2 separate regions of the Homo sapiens genome follow, and region 2 is linked to region 1. Evidence: promoter capture Hi-C in 16 types of primary human blood cells and fetal thymus (Javierre and others, 2016). All regions are on one chromosome and are shown on one strand. The core of a region is centred on a gene start or on the middle of the fragment in contact, and the rest is flanking DNA. Distances in the headings are between cores, read along the strand shown.

Region 1 (6,435 bases), core at 328-2,827:
AGTTGCCAGGGTCTTAGGAGACGGGGCGGTAGGGAGCTGTCTGATTAGTACACAGTTGTGTTGTAAGATGAAAAAGTTCTGAAGAGTCCTTGCACAACAATGTCAATATACTTCACTAATGGACTGCACACTTAAAAATAGTTAAGACCGTAAATTTGGCAGGTTTTTAAACCACAACTTAAAAAATTATTAACTCTTTTCTTTCATTTTATTTTCCTGTCCTCATGGGTATAGTGTTAGAAGGCAATGTAATGGAAAGGATAGAGAGAAAAGCAAAGAGCACAGGGCTTCAACGACGTAGAGAAAAAAATTTAAGAGACAACAAAACAAGTGGCCCCATATTTTCATTAATAATTTTCTACAATTAATTGAATCTATCGATAACTTTCTTCTTAACCTGGAAATACTAATGGCAAGGCAACAGTGTAGCGGTTAAAGGCCTTTTCGAGTCTGAAAGTTCAGCTACTATTCTGACTTTGCTACTAATTGTTGTGTGACCTTGGGTAAGATACTTTCATTCATTCGCTAATTCATTCATTAATTATCAGAAAGTCTGTTTCCACGTGGGTAAACCTGGTCAAATGAATCCTGCACCTCTACACAGAATTGTTCTGAGGAATAAATGAAATAATCCATGCAAAATGTTGGGCACAACTATTGGCACTTTGTGCTCAATAAATGTTGGCTATTATTACTCCGAAGCCTATCGAGTAGGAAAATAAATAAGCTGACTTCAACTAAAGGAAACCCAGTACCATATTCCTCAGAGATTTGGTTCGTCGATAATCATGGTGTTATCAAATCAGATACTCTTCAGCAATCATTACTGACTCTTGACCATTCTTGCCGAAAGTGTGCTCTTCTCTTTTAAAGGAACTCTCTCCCAGGGAAAAGCAATGTCATCTCAGGTATTCGATGTTTGCTTTGGGAACAGTTTTCTACAGATCTCAGAAACATGGAATCTGAGATTAGCCACTAGAGTACACCATTCCTCTCACTTCGATAGGGGCCTAGGCCTTATGTAGGACTGAGAATGGGGAGGGAGGGGGCCACATAAACAACACAGATACAAATAAAGCCTCACTGTGGTAAGACGGGACCAGACAAGTCTCCTCCAGGGAGAATGAAACCCGGACATTTAGGACAGCGGAACGCGGAGCCGGCGGGCAGGCGGGTGCAGAGGAACCTCGCGCAGCATTCCCCGAGCCCCAGCCCGGAGCCGGGGCTGGGGCCAGGGCGGGGGTGTGTCGGGATGCTCCCCACCGGGCCTGGGGCTGGGGCTGGCTCAGACAGGCCGGGGGCCCCGCAGGCCTCCAGGAGGGGCCGAGGTGGGGGCAGGGGCGGGCTACGCGGTGGTCTGGGGATTGGGCAGGAAGAGAAGGGACGCTGAGGTCTCACCGCGGGCCGAGGGCAGTGGGTAGAGCTTCTCGGCCTTCTGCAGGAAGCGCTGGGCCTTCTCGCGGTTGCCGGCGTTCAGGGCCTCCCGGGCGATCTCGACACATTTCTCAGCCTCATCCCTGTTCCCCTCCATAGCTTGCTCCTTCTTCCGTTTCCTCCGGCAGCGCAGCTAAGAAGGGCGGAAGCCGCCGCCGCGGAGGAGGCGAGGCGGGACCGGCTGGGGGCGTGCGGCGGCAGCGGGGAGGAGCGCAGGGGACCGCGGCAGCGGCTGCGACGGCCCGGGCGGACGGGCGGGCCTCGCAGCTCCGCCTCCTCACGGCGGCCTCCCCGCCCCCCGCGGGCCCCTAGGGCGCGATCCGCATCCGTCCCGGCCCAGGACCAACCTCCTGGGCCGGGGCGTCCGAGCTGACTCGGTGGTCCGCGCACGGCGCCAGCAGGCTCGAAGCGGACCTGCCCGGGAGGCGGACGATAGCAGCCGGGCTGCCCATCGCGGGGAGGGGTTCCGCCCGGGACCCGATTGCCGGCATTGGTAGCGCCGTGCCCTGTGACCTCCAGGCGAGGCCCTCGCAGCTCAGGCCAGGAGGACAGGGTCCGGGAAGGGGACACTCGTTTTCAGTAAAATTGCCAGGACTTGGAGGTTCCGCCTCTGGGCCCCTCAAGCGAGGGAGGATGCGGTCAGGTGAGGACCAAGGTGTCAGTCCAGTCTCAGCACTTCCGGGACACGTTAGAGCGTCGTTTGAACCTAATCTTAGGGCTTGTATGGCAGCCTTATTTCAGCTACATTTTTTCTGACCCGGATGTCTGGCTATCCAAAGTACAAAGCAGTTTAATTTGTAGCTTGCAACGAGTGGTGCAGATCGACCTTAATCCTGTGTAGCCAAAACAAGGCAGGAATCAGCCCCTCAGGGGCTGCCCTAACGAAAGCAAACTTTTGATTTCACCTTTTCCGTCCCATTTGGATAACATTACCACTTGGAAGTACCGTGTCTTGTTAGTCTTCGCGGTGGGGGTGGGGGGAATGTTTGCTATGTGCAAATTTTTTAAAAAAAAACATGACAAACTGTCAAAATGACCTGCTCAACCCAACCACAAGGTAACAATTTTTACATAATGCTGTGAGCCAAGCTGTTAATTCTGCTAACTACCATAACTCGGTACTTTCAAATAAGAAACCCTGCTTCTCTTCGATAAAATGGAGATAGTATATCCCCAATGATGTTACTGAGTACTTAACAACTTCAGACTTCAAAGCAGGGCCTGGCACGTAGCACTATTATCTTTAAAGTTTAAATTCGGAGTTCATTCTGTGGATATACAGGACATTCCTACCTATTCTCTCCCTCCCCAAGTCCACCATGCTAACAGCATACTAGTGCAGTGCTGTCACACAGCAAGCGAAGCCAATGTACAAACTGAAATGGTCACACTTAGCCTAAGAAACTGACAATCCCACTCCAGCTCCTGCCAACTTTTTAAATTAAAACTTTAGTAGCTCATATAACATTAAAAAAATATACTTGGGCTATCTCACTTTGTTGATCTACAGATTTGACAGTTCAGTCACAAAGAAATGTGCTTAGTTATTGCTGCTAGATGAGATACTCAAAACAAGTTCCTATTACAACCAAGCAAATTTAATACACAACTAGTTTGGGATATGACCTTTATTGAACTTATCCACCAGAGTGGAAATAATGTCTGTACAAAACCAAATGTTTGTTACTATAACTTCTGCATCACAATTAAAATCCAAACAGTTTTTTAAAAACAGTCAACTCAATCAAAACCCACTACTTCAGAATCAATAGCTTCTTTGAAGCCACAGTAACACTTAAATATGGTTAAGACTCGAATGCAGAAATTTGGTTGGTTGGAAAGCTAATTAAACTTCCAACTTGCTCAAATAGAATTACAAAAAGGCAAAATTGTGTTTTTCACAGAGATACAGTCCACTGGAATCACCAACACTGGACAGCTGTTAGAGTATTTAGAGTCCTGAGATAACAAGGAATCCAGGCATCCTTTAGACAGTCTTCTGTTGTCCTTTCTTCCCAATCAGAGATTTGTGGATGTGTGGAATGACACCTAGGAGAGTGACAGGAATTAATTCTACTTAAGATTTTTTAAAAAATCACAGTATTTGAAACCAAGAAAGTGTATACTGTTCAACTTGAAAGGTATCTTTAAAAACATGCAGCTCAAGTATGAAGTAAAAATTCATTGAGTTATACATATAAATCAAATTTCATGATACAACCATACTTCCATCATTGAAAATATACTTAAATTTCCTCTCCTGGAAAAACTAATTAAAAGCAGCAAAAAATTCCTTCCTCTGAAGAAATTTTTTAAAATGTTAGAAGTTAACATACCACCACCAGCAATTGTAGCCTTGATGAGAGAATCCAATTCTTCATCTCCACGAATAGCAAGTTGCAAGTGACGAGGGGTAATACGCTTTACCTTTAAGTCTTTTGATGCATTTCCTGCCAGTTCAAGTACCTAAAAGGCAGAATCTGTCAGTTGCCTTCCAACTTTCCTTTGGCCAAGATTCAGAGAACAGAATAAAACCCTCACAAACGCAGATCTACCAACTGGAATCGTTCCTCACTATCTGACTGGCAAGATATACAGGGGGCACGCAATTTTAATTCCAAGAGCAGAGAACTCAAGCTCAGTAGGATCCTTGTTGAACACCAGCTCCCTCTAGCGTTCTCTTAGGCCTCTCGCCGCGTTCAGGGCCTGGGAGTTTTCTTGCATCACTTTCCTCCTTCCCTCTTGCCGCCTCCCCGCCCCCCAAACCTTCTCCGGATTATAGGCGTTCACCCATTTACCTCTGCGGTGAGGTACTCCAGGATGGCTGCGCTGTACACAGCGGCAGTCGCGCCCACACGTCCATGACTGGTCGTCCTAGATTTTAGGTGTCGATGAATACGGCCCACTGGGAACTTAAATTTTAAGCATACACAAACATAAATGCACAAAAATGAGAACTAGAGATGGGGAAATTATATGCGCGCCAAAGCAAGGGGCACGGGCGCAGCAACGCGTCCCGACATCGAAACACGTGATTCCTCCCCCCCATATTTATCGTATGGGCAGCCCAAGTCGCGACACCGCATCACCCACGCATACACAAAACGCCCATCGAGAGCGATGAATAACAAAAAAGGAAATGCAAAGAAAAACATCATGACTCCCAGACTGCACGAACAACTACTGACCTGCAAGCCGGCTCTCTGCGAGCGGGAAACCGCCTTTGTCTTGGCCTTTCCGGAGTCCTTTCCAGCCTTACCGCCAGCCTGCGGCGCGCACACGCCCGCGAGCGGAGGAGGAACGGAGAATATAGAATTACCAAGGCGGCGCGCCCATCCCCCACCGCGGCGCGTCCCGCCGCGAGCGCGTCCCCGCACCCTGCCGGGGTCTCCGGCCCGCGGCGCGCCGCAGGGGCGACCCCGCCCGTTCGCCCCCCGCCGCGCGCTCGCCACGGCCGCGCGCCTCCGCCCGCCGGCCCCCAGCGGCGCTGCGCGCGCCACCCAACCGTCGCCGCCCGCCGCGAGATCCGAGGCTGCTCCGCTAGCAGCCGACAAAACACCTCCCCCCACTCTTCTAAATCCTGTCTCCGCGCGTTCCCAACCGTCGCCACTTCACCCCCATCCCTCTGTGTAACGGGTTTTTCTCTCGCCGGCAAAAACCCGCGGAGTCATCGAGCGTCTCTGCGAAGTTTACCATTTCGAATTCCGCTGAAGCTCAAGCAAGCAAGGCAGAGAAAAGGCTAATCGGACCCACGGTGAGATCCCACCACCTACTCCTTCGTCGCACCGCGATTCAAACTGCGCTGTCTCCCGCCTTCCCTGCTCCCTTTATACTGCAGAATGTTCCCTCATCCGGGAACTCGGATTGCTCATCCCACCAATGGCTGCCACCCGCCCTCGGGACGCGTCCTTGAGACTTCAGCCAATGAGCAAGCGAAGAAAAGGGTGGAGGGGCGGGCGCTTCTAATCTCAAGCCGCGATTGGGGCGTGGGGGGAGAGGCGGGGGAAGGCGGAGGGATGGGAACGGGGGAGAAGAAGGGCACCGCGGCGGGAGGGAAGAAACAGAGCGAGCTACGCTGCAGGAGCGCAGTTACCAGCCGGCTGCGATCACGTGCCTGGGAGGAGGAGCTGAGACCTCAGGGGAGGGGCGCGCGGTAGCGTCCCGGGTCCCCTAGCAGGGCTCTAGAGACCACGTGAAGTCTCCTCGGTATGTAGCACGCCGCCCCCACCACTCCCAGCCCCATTCCCAGCGCCTCTCGGGCGGAGACCTGCGACCCGCAGCCGCTTTCCGGGGCCCCGGACACCCCTTCCCTACCCTCTCAATCCCTGGCGGCTCCTCCCGTCTGACAGGTGGCGCGAACGCGTCCAGTGAGAGGAGTCTGAGGTTTGCCCTGACGCCTTCCACAGCCTTAGTAGAGATTCCGTGTTTCTTCCGTCTAGGCGAGTCCCCAGCCACCAACAGATCACGACCCGCTGCTCCCACTTTATTTTCAGCCGGGTCTTCCACCTCTCCCTCACTACTTATGAAATCCTCCACGGAATAGTTCTGTGACAGCAAACGGTGAAGCCAAGTCACCTCACTGGTCACGAAACCCTTTTTGTCTATACTTAGGGAGCTTCTGGCGAGGCAGTATTCTTTAATCAAATCATAAACCATATTTTTTGGAGACTACACATCAATGGGTTGTACCTGTAGCCTGGTGTGTAAAGCTCATTTAGTGAAACCTCAGAGCTATTATGTGTCAACTTTTCTACAGTAAGTATTTTGCCACATGACAAATGTTCGGCAAATGTCGATGGAGTAACTCTGACATGATTTTCAGGCAGTTAGAGGGTCCATGCAATGCAATCAGTTGCAAATGATGAGGTTAAAGTAATGGTACTGTACACACAGTACTATCCTTCCAACTAGTAGGTTATTAACACCTATGTACATCTCCAGCTGCTTGGGGACAGTAGTGTCTCAATCTCATTTGCAGTGTTTTAGTGTATTACATTTTTT
Region 2 (6,508 bases), core at 2,743-5,242, 5.2 Mb after region 1:
TATTATATCTCAATATGTCATCTATTGGAGACTGTTGAAACTTAGTATTCTGTGTTAAATACGTACCTACATATAATGTGCAGTAATGTAACCAAACAAAATAAATAAGAAAGCTTTTTAACCGCAGTGACTGCTATGCTGTTTGATGGTCAATTGTCTTTTAAGCATACAGAGAATCTTTATCATGTTATACTTCAGAAACATGTTTTTGGAGATGGGAAACAACAGGCCATGATTTTATGTTTTTGTTAAACCAGTATAATTCTTTCAAAGCAGTGTATATCACAACTATTTCTCTGTGTTGAAGAGAGTATCAAGTTCTTAAAGAAAAATGTAATCCCAGCACTTTGGGAGGCTGAGGTAGGAGGAGCACGAGGTCAGGAGTTGGAGAGCAGACAGGAGAATTGCTTGAATCCGGGAGGTGGAGGTTGCGGTGAGCAGAGATCGCGCCACTCACTCCGTCCTGGGTGACAGAGTGAGACTCCGTTTCAAAAAAAAAAAAAAAGAAAGAAAGAAAGAACATTTTCTATTCTGCAGGTGGGAGGAAATGAAGAATGCACCTATTATTTTTGTGTTAGTACAACATAAAAAAAATTTGCATTGTAAAGCAAACTACCATCATCAGCTCTTTAATGGACAGCAGCAGACAGGAAACTGCCTCCACCCTGAGACTTAAAGACTGAGCAACTGAGTTAGATAGCAGGTGCGCAGGCCAATCAAGTCAATTTTCTAACACAGAGTAGCATGTTGTGGAACTTGTTCTATTAGTCTTTTTTCTCTGTTAAGGAAGCAAGGATCTCTCTGTATGGAAGCAGTGCTGCTATTTCTAGTTTGAGGAAAAAAATGGTAAAGAATTTGATAATTAATTGTTGTTAAAACAGCAAATTATATTTTAAACACAGATTGTCCACACCTGTAGGAGGAGGAATCTCAAGAATGCACACAATTAATAAAAGCTGGTTCTGAATTACCCATACAAGTGCGCACTGCGTTCAGTAAACAACTGATTTGCAAACTATATCCTTTCTTTCCCAGAAATAGCAGGAGGAAGTTTTTCAAATCAAAAAAAAAATCTAACTAAAATATTTTATACGTGAAGGCCTGCAGAATTTTACTTCCTTTTGCTGTTGAAAAATCACAATAGCCAAGAGGAGTAATGTATTTTATTTTAACTTTTAAAAAGTCATGATGGTTAAGGGTAGAGTGGAGGTGCAGAGAAAGAAGTTGGCAAGAAAATGTTCAGGGCCTGTTGTAAAACCAACTGCAACCCAAACATGATTCCAAATAGGTAAGAACACCCTGTTACAACAGAGAGCAGTTTTCAAAGAAGAAATGAGAGGGAGGTGACCTGAAAGATCATTTCCCAGTTATAACTAAAGGAACCTACGGATACTTTTATATTAAACACATGCTAATATAATATTTTCCACATATTATTAAATGTAAGAAGATATATAATTATATACTTCTATAGTCAGAAACAAAATAACTCCTAGAAGTAAATGGTTTGTTACTGTAGTAGTAGTAACTACCTGGGCACTTACCTAGTGCTCTTATTAAAAACTCACCACAACTCTGCTGTCTTACAGGTTGTTGAACAGATTGAAAGAAACCGATACCGAGAGAGTTAAGTAAAATGCACAAGGTCACACTGGAAAAGATAGAGTTAAGAGTCACTCAGCTCTGTAAAACTCCAAAGCCCATGTTTCAACAACTCTGCAATACTGTGCACTGTATAAATGTATGTTGTGGTCTTGAGAGAACTTTATTTCCTGGACTTGAAAAATACATCACAAGCCGGGCGCGGTGGCTCACGCCTGTAATCCCAGCACTCTGGGAGGTCAGGAGTTCCAGACCAGCCTGGCCAATATGGTGAAACCCCGTCTCTATTAAAAATACAAAAAATAGCTGGGCGTGGTGGCGCACGCCTGTAGTCCCAGCTACTCCGGAGGCTGAGGCAGAAGAATCGCTTGAACCCGGAAGGCCGAGGTTGCAGTGAGCCGAGATCGCGCCACTGCACTCCAGCCTGGGTGACAGAGAGAGGCTGTCTCAAGAAAGAAAGAAAAGGAAAGAAAAGAAAGAAAGAAATAAAGATCACAAAGAACTTTCAAACAGCTTAGATTTTAAAGTGCATTAACAATTTCCAAGACCTAAGTGACGCTTTAGTGTACAGCTAGAAAACATGGAATGTCATTCCCACCTGAAATGTTTAAGGGAAAATGTACTATTTCCTTAGTTTGTGCAAAATCTGAAATCTGAGTCAACTTTGTTTCAAAATGGAATAAACAAAGTTTGATTGGACCCACTAAACATTCTTCTTAGCAACAATGCGACACTTGCAAGGAGTTCCCTTTTTCACACTCTTCAAAGAGGAAATATTCCGATTTCGTAAAATTAGGGCTTCGCTTTTAAAAAAAATTACAGACCAAAAAAAGTGTGGTTACACAATATAACTAGTATTGACTTAAGGGTACTGTGATCACCATGCAGTGATCCCATAAAAGATGTGACCAAAATACCCACTTAAAATTTGAACGTCAGTCATGTAAGAACATGTAAAAGATGAAGGGAATATTTCAAAAACGACTATCTGACGTAATATGATACTTACTATGACTCATATGGGCTTTGTTCTTCATCTCATCTTCAAATAAAAAGTTGATGATTAGAAAAAGGAGCATTAGAAGGGGGAAGTAACACTACTCGGCAATAGAGAAAAACTCCGGTCAAAGGAAGAGCATAGTTACAGAGCTCCGAATGTCAGGGAAAATCAAGCATCCGTCATTCGGAATTAGCTCTGTATCGGTCGGTTTCTTCATTACTTAATTGTACGGGGGGAAACTACTTCAAAGTAAGGGCTCTTACGAGAGGCAACTTAAGCATTTGAAAGTGCAGGTTTATTTCCTCCTAGCGAGAAGTAGGGGGTCACTAGTGAGAAACCTATTTCAATCTGTGAGACGCCCCCTTCTACTCAGCCCACGTGGCTAAAGTAAACAGAAGGTGGGCCGGGGCGGGGAGAAACAGAACTCGGTCAATTTCCCAGTTTGTCGGGTCTTTAAAAATACAGGCCCCTAAAGCACTAAGGGCATGCCCTCGGTGAAACAGGGGAGCGCTTCTGCTGAATGAGATTAAAGCGACAGAAAAGGGAAAGGAGAGCGCGGGCAACGGGATCTAAAGGGAGATAGAGACGCGGGCCTCTGAGGGTAAGGTGGGCGCAAGCGGAGGTGTGGTGCGGGGAGAGGTGCCAGTGGGTGGAGGCGGGGGCCAGAGCGAGGGCACGTGCGGGTACACTCCGGAGGAGGTGGGTGCGCGCGGGGGCGTGTGCGCGGGACCTCGAAGTGGTGGTGGAGTGCAGACCAGCAAAAAGTTTCAAAGGGAAATCTTAGATGTCACGTCTTTGTCCAGGCACCCGTGCCATCCCAACCTCCCACCTCGCCCCCAACCTTCGCGCTTGCTCTGCTTCTTCTCCCAGGGGTGGAGACCCGCCGAGGTCCCCGGGGTTCCCGAGGGCTGCACCCTTCCCCGCGCTCGCCAGCCCTGGCCCCTACTCCGCGCTGGTCCGGGCGCACCACTCCCCCCGCGCCACTGCACGGCGTGAGGGCAGCCCAGGTCTCCACTGCGCGCCCCGCTGTACGGCCCCAGGTGCCGCCGGCCTTTGTGCTGGACGCCCGGTGCGGGGGGCTAATTCCCTGGGAGCCGGGGCTGAGGGCCCCAGGGCGGCGGCGCAGGCCGGGGCGGAGCGGGAGGAGGCCGGGGCGGAGCAGGAGGAGGCCCGGGCGGAGGAGGAGAGCCGGCGGTAGCGGCAGTGGCAGCGGCGAGAGCTTGGGCGGCCGCCGCCGCCTCCTCGCGAGCGCCGCGCGCCCGGGTCCCGCTCGCATGCAAGTCACGTCCGCCCCCTCGGCGCGGCCGCCCCGAGACGCCGGCCCCGCTGAGTGATGAGAACAGACGTCAAACTGCCTTATGAATATTGATGCGGAGGCTAGGCTGCTTTCGTAGAGAAGCAGAAGGAAGCAAGATGGCTGCCCTTTAGGATTTGTTAGAAAGGAGACCCGACTGCAACTGCTGGATTGCTGCAAGGCTGAGGGACGAGAACGAGGTCAGAGCGCTTCTCTTATGCCGCGAAACTCTCCCTTTCTTCTCCCCTTCGCTTTTTCTCGGGCTTCCAGGGACTGGGGAGCAAACCCTGTAGTGTCACCCACAAATACCAAGAGGGAAGAGGGAAGCTTCACAAATTACTGGAGCCTCTTCAACATGGCTGACAAATATAGTTTTAATTCCCTCTACCCCTTTTAAACCTGTAGTTCTGTGTTCTCTTCTCTCCTCCTAATGCTCGTCCCCTCATCTCCCAGAAAACTTACCTTTGTGCCTCCGACGAGCCGGTTTCCCGGCCTTTTTTAATCCTCAGAAAAGTGATTTTTAAATTTGCTTTCCTTTCTAAAATAGTTCAGCTTTGGGGGCACTACTTTTCCCTTTAATCCTCTTCCCCTGTTTCTTTCGTGTAAGTGAAACGAGTCTCCCGTTTATCCTGAACAACCTCAGAGAGAACACTGATAGGGTGTTTTTCGACCCTTTTATCAGCTGTAGGGTCTGGGTCTGGGTTTGTGTCTGCCTCCTCCTACCTTCTTATCCCCCTTTAGGGGGCTGTACGAAGTGAATGTCACAGGGAGTGGAATTGGAGTACACTGAGTGGGTTTTTTTTTTCCTTAAGTCCGCGCGTTTTGTTAGCGGCGCTGAGTGAAAGAGGAAAGAATAGTTTCTCTGGTTCCCCAAACAAGACCAGAACTCACTTTTCTCAAGGTACATAAGTCAGCGCTGGGCTGAGCCTTCCAGCCTGGGGAATGTATGTAAGAGAATTTATGGACAAATCTGTGTCCCGGCTTTGTGCTTCTCCCGAATCAGCTTCGTTTGGTTCCTTGGTAAGTGACAGGCAGACACAAAGGCAGGCGCAGGCCCGGGGAGGGGGCGGGAGGGGGTGGGGAGCGCAGCGTTGGAGTTGCAAGACTGCAAGGTCAGGGGCGCCTAAAGAAATGAAACCCAATCCCAGCAAAGAAGTGAAGAGCAGATTTATAACAGTCCCATCCAAATTTCTCTTTGGCTTCTCTCTTTGGTCTTTCATCTCTCTGCCTTTCTCTCTGTGTCTCCTCTCTACTCTTTCTTCTCTCTCTCTCATACACATACACACACACACACACACACACACCTCACTCGCATCTTGCTGAATCTTTTCACTGGGACTGCTTGTCTAGTTTTATTAAGCTAATAGGGTTTGTATGGAGAGTTTTCTACCTATGACATAATGAAGTGTGGCCTGGATAGACTCCTGGAAAGGCCGAAAATGAAATATAAGTGTTATTTGCTGGTTATTCCCCTCATGATATACTTTTAATTACATTGAGGGAGTTCTCCCTTCTTCATCTAATGTTTAAGAATTGAGAAAAGGCTTATTTTCCAGCGGTAAAATTTAGTGCATAAAATTTAGTGAAATATTTATATATTTACGTGTCTAGGGAGTGGAATACATTCATGAATTTAATATCTCAAATCACACATTGTGCTTTTTCCCCTTCAGTCAGGGATTATAATGGGAAACCCAAATTCAAAGATATTCATCAACAAATGATCCATCATAGGAATAAGATTGTATCTTAAGGGAAGTTGGGATTCACAGAGAAAAGACATTGGTTTGGTTTGGTGTGATACTGTGGGTATTGTTGCCTGGCTAATGAAATCATTACATTTGCATTTTAATGGAAAGTTGAAATACTAAGGGGAGTTATGTTCTTTTACATGTTTGTATGTGTGCTTAATAATGTTTGGAATAGAATATAAATTTAAACACAATAAATATTGATTTTTTTAAATGTTAATAAGCAGAGAACGGTTAATGAAGTGTTGGATAATCAAACTGAAGTTTAGAAGACAATTTATAGGATTAAAAAATGGATAGAAGGAAAAACACAATAATAGATATTTCTCCATAAGTCGAATTTCCAAAACTATTTGTCCTCGATAGTTCACTTTGTAACTTTCTATTTTGATCTTTGTTAATTTAATGTAGTTTGCTTTAATCATTGATACGTGGGGTTCTTTCACATGATTACAAGGGAGAAGCATTACTCATCTCTGTGGAATAGAAACGGTTCATTGGTTAGTTCTTATTTGCCCTAAAATTAAAACAAAAATTAGGATTTTACCATTAATGCTGTTCATGGTAAACTATCGAGAAAACTATGGTTAATTATTCCAGCAATTCAGAATTAAAAACAATTCCTTTTGCTAACAAACTAATATTTACTTTTTGGGGACAACTTTTCAAATGTTGTGGTATATACTGTCTTCAGGCTACTCAACTAATAATAGATACAACATTTTCCACTCAATAAATAAGAATAACTACATTGGTTAATAATTTTGAATACAACTATGAAGGCTTGTTTTTTCCTGTCATCAAATTTAGATTCTTGTTATTTTGTGCATCCTACTTTTATACTGAAAATAGCTGCTAATT

The links. Contacts are between HindIII fragments. The CHiCAGO score rates a contact against its expected background, and 5 or more counts as called.
Region 2: the fragment with the promoter of TET2 here is called in contact with the fragment with the promoter of DNAJB14 in region 1 in 1 of 17 cell types (neutrophils); the score reaches 5.5 in neutrophils.

Annotation. Positions count from the first base shown.
Region 1 is chr4:99,945,041-99,951,475 of GRCh38, forward strand. DNAJB14 (DnaJ heat shock protein family (Hsp40) member B14) reads right to left here and starts at 1,578. Exons shown (of 8, transcript NM_001031723.4): 1 at 1,399-1,578. The coding sequence starts at 1,531. H2AZ1 (H2A.Z variant histone 1) reads right to left here and starts at 5,235. Exons shown (of 5, transcript NM_002106.4): 1 at 5,128-5,235; 2 at 4,623-4,700; 3 at 4,233-4,346; 4 at 3,771-3,900; 5 at 3,048-3,483. The coding sequence starts at 5,130. The coding sequence ends at 3,422. H2AZ1-DT (H2AZ1 divergent transcript) reads left to right here and starts at 5,454. Exons shown (of 4, transcript NR_125923.1): 1 at 5,454-5,640. RefSeq lists enhancers at 962-1,011, 3,889-4,494, 3,976-4,025, 5,066-5,155, 5,100-5,704 and silencers at 1,182-1,841, 4,646-4,735, 4,816-4,865, 5,526-5,575, 5,616-5,825. The HindIII fragment of the contact is 11,087 bases long and covers 1-6,435 here.
Region 2 is chr4:105,142,884-105,149,391 of GRCh38, forward strand. TET2 (tet methylcytosine dioxygenase 2) reads left to right here and starts at 3,993. Exons shown (of 11, transcript NM_001127208.3): 1 at 3,993-4,096. It overlaps LOC124900868, which reads right to left. Exons shown (of 3, transcript XM_047416559.1): 2 at 2,612-4,078. The coding sequence ends at 3,390. RefSeq lists enhancers at 359-860, 4,005-4,174, 4,518-4,567 and silencers at 3,255-3,934, 4,898-4,967. The HindIII fragment of the contact is 4,110 bases long and covers 112-4,221 here.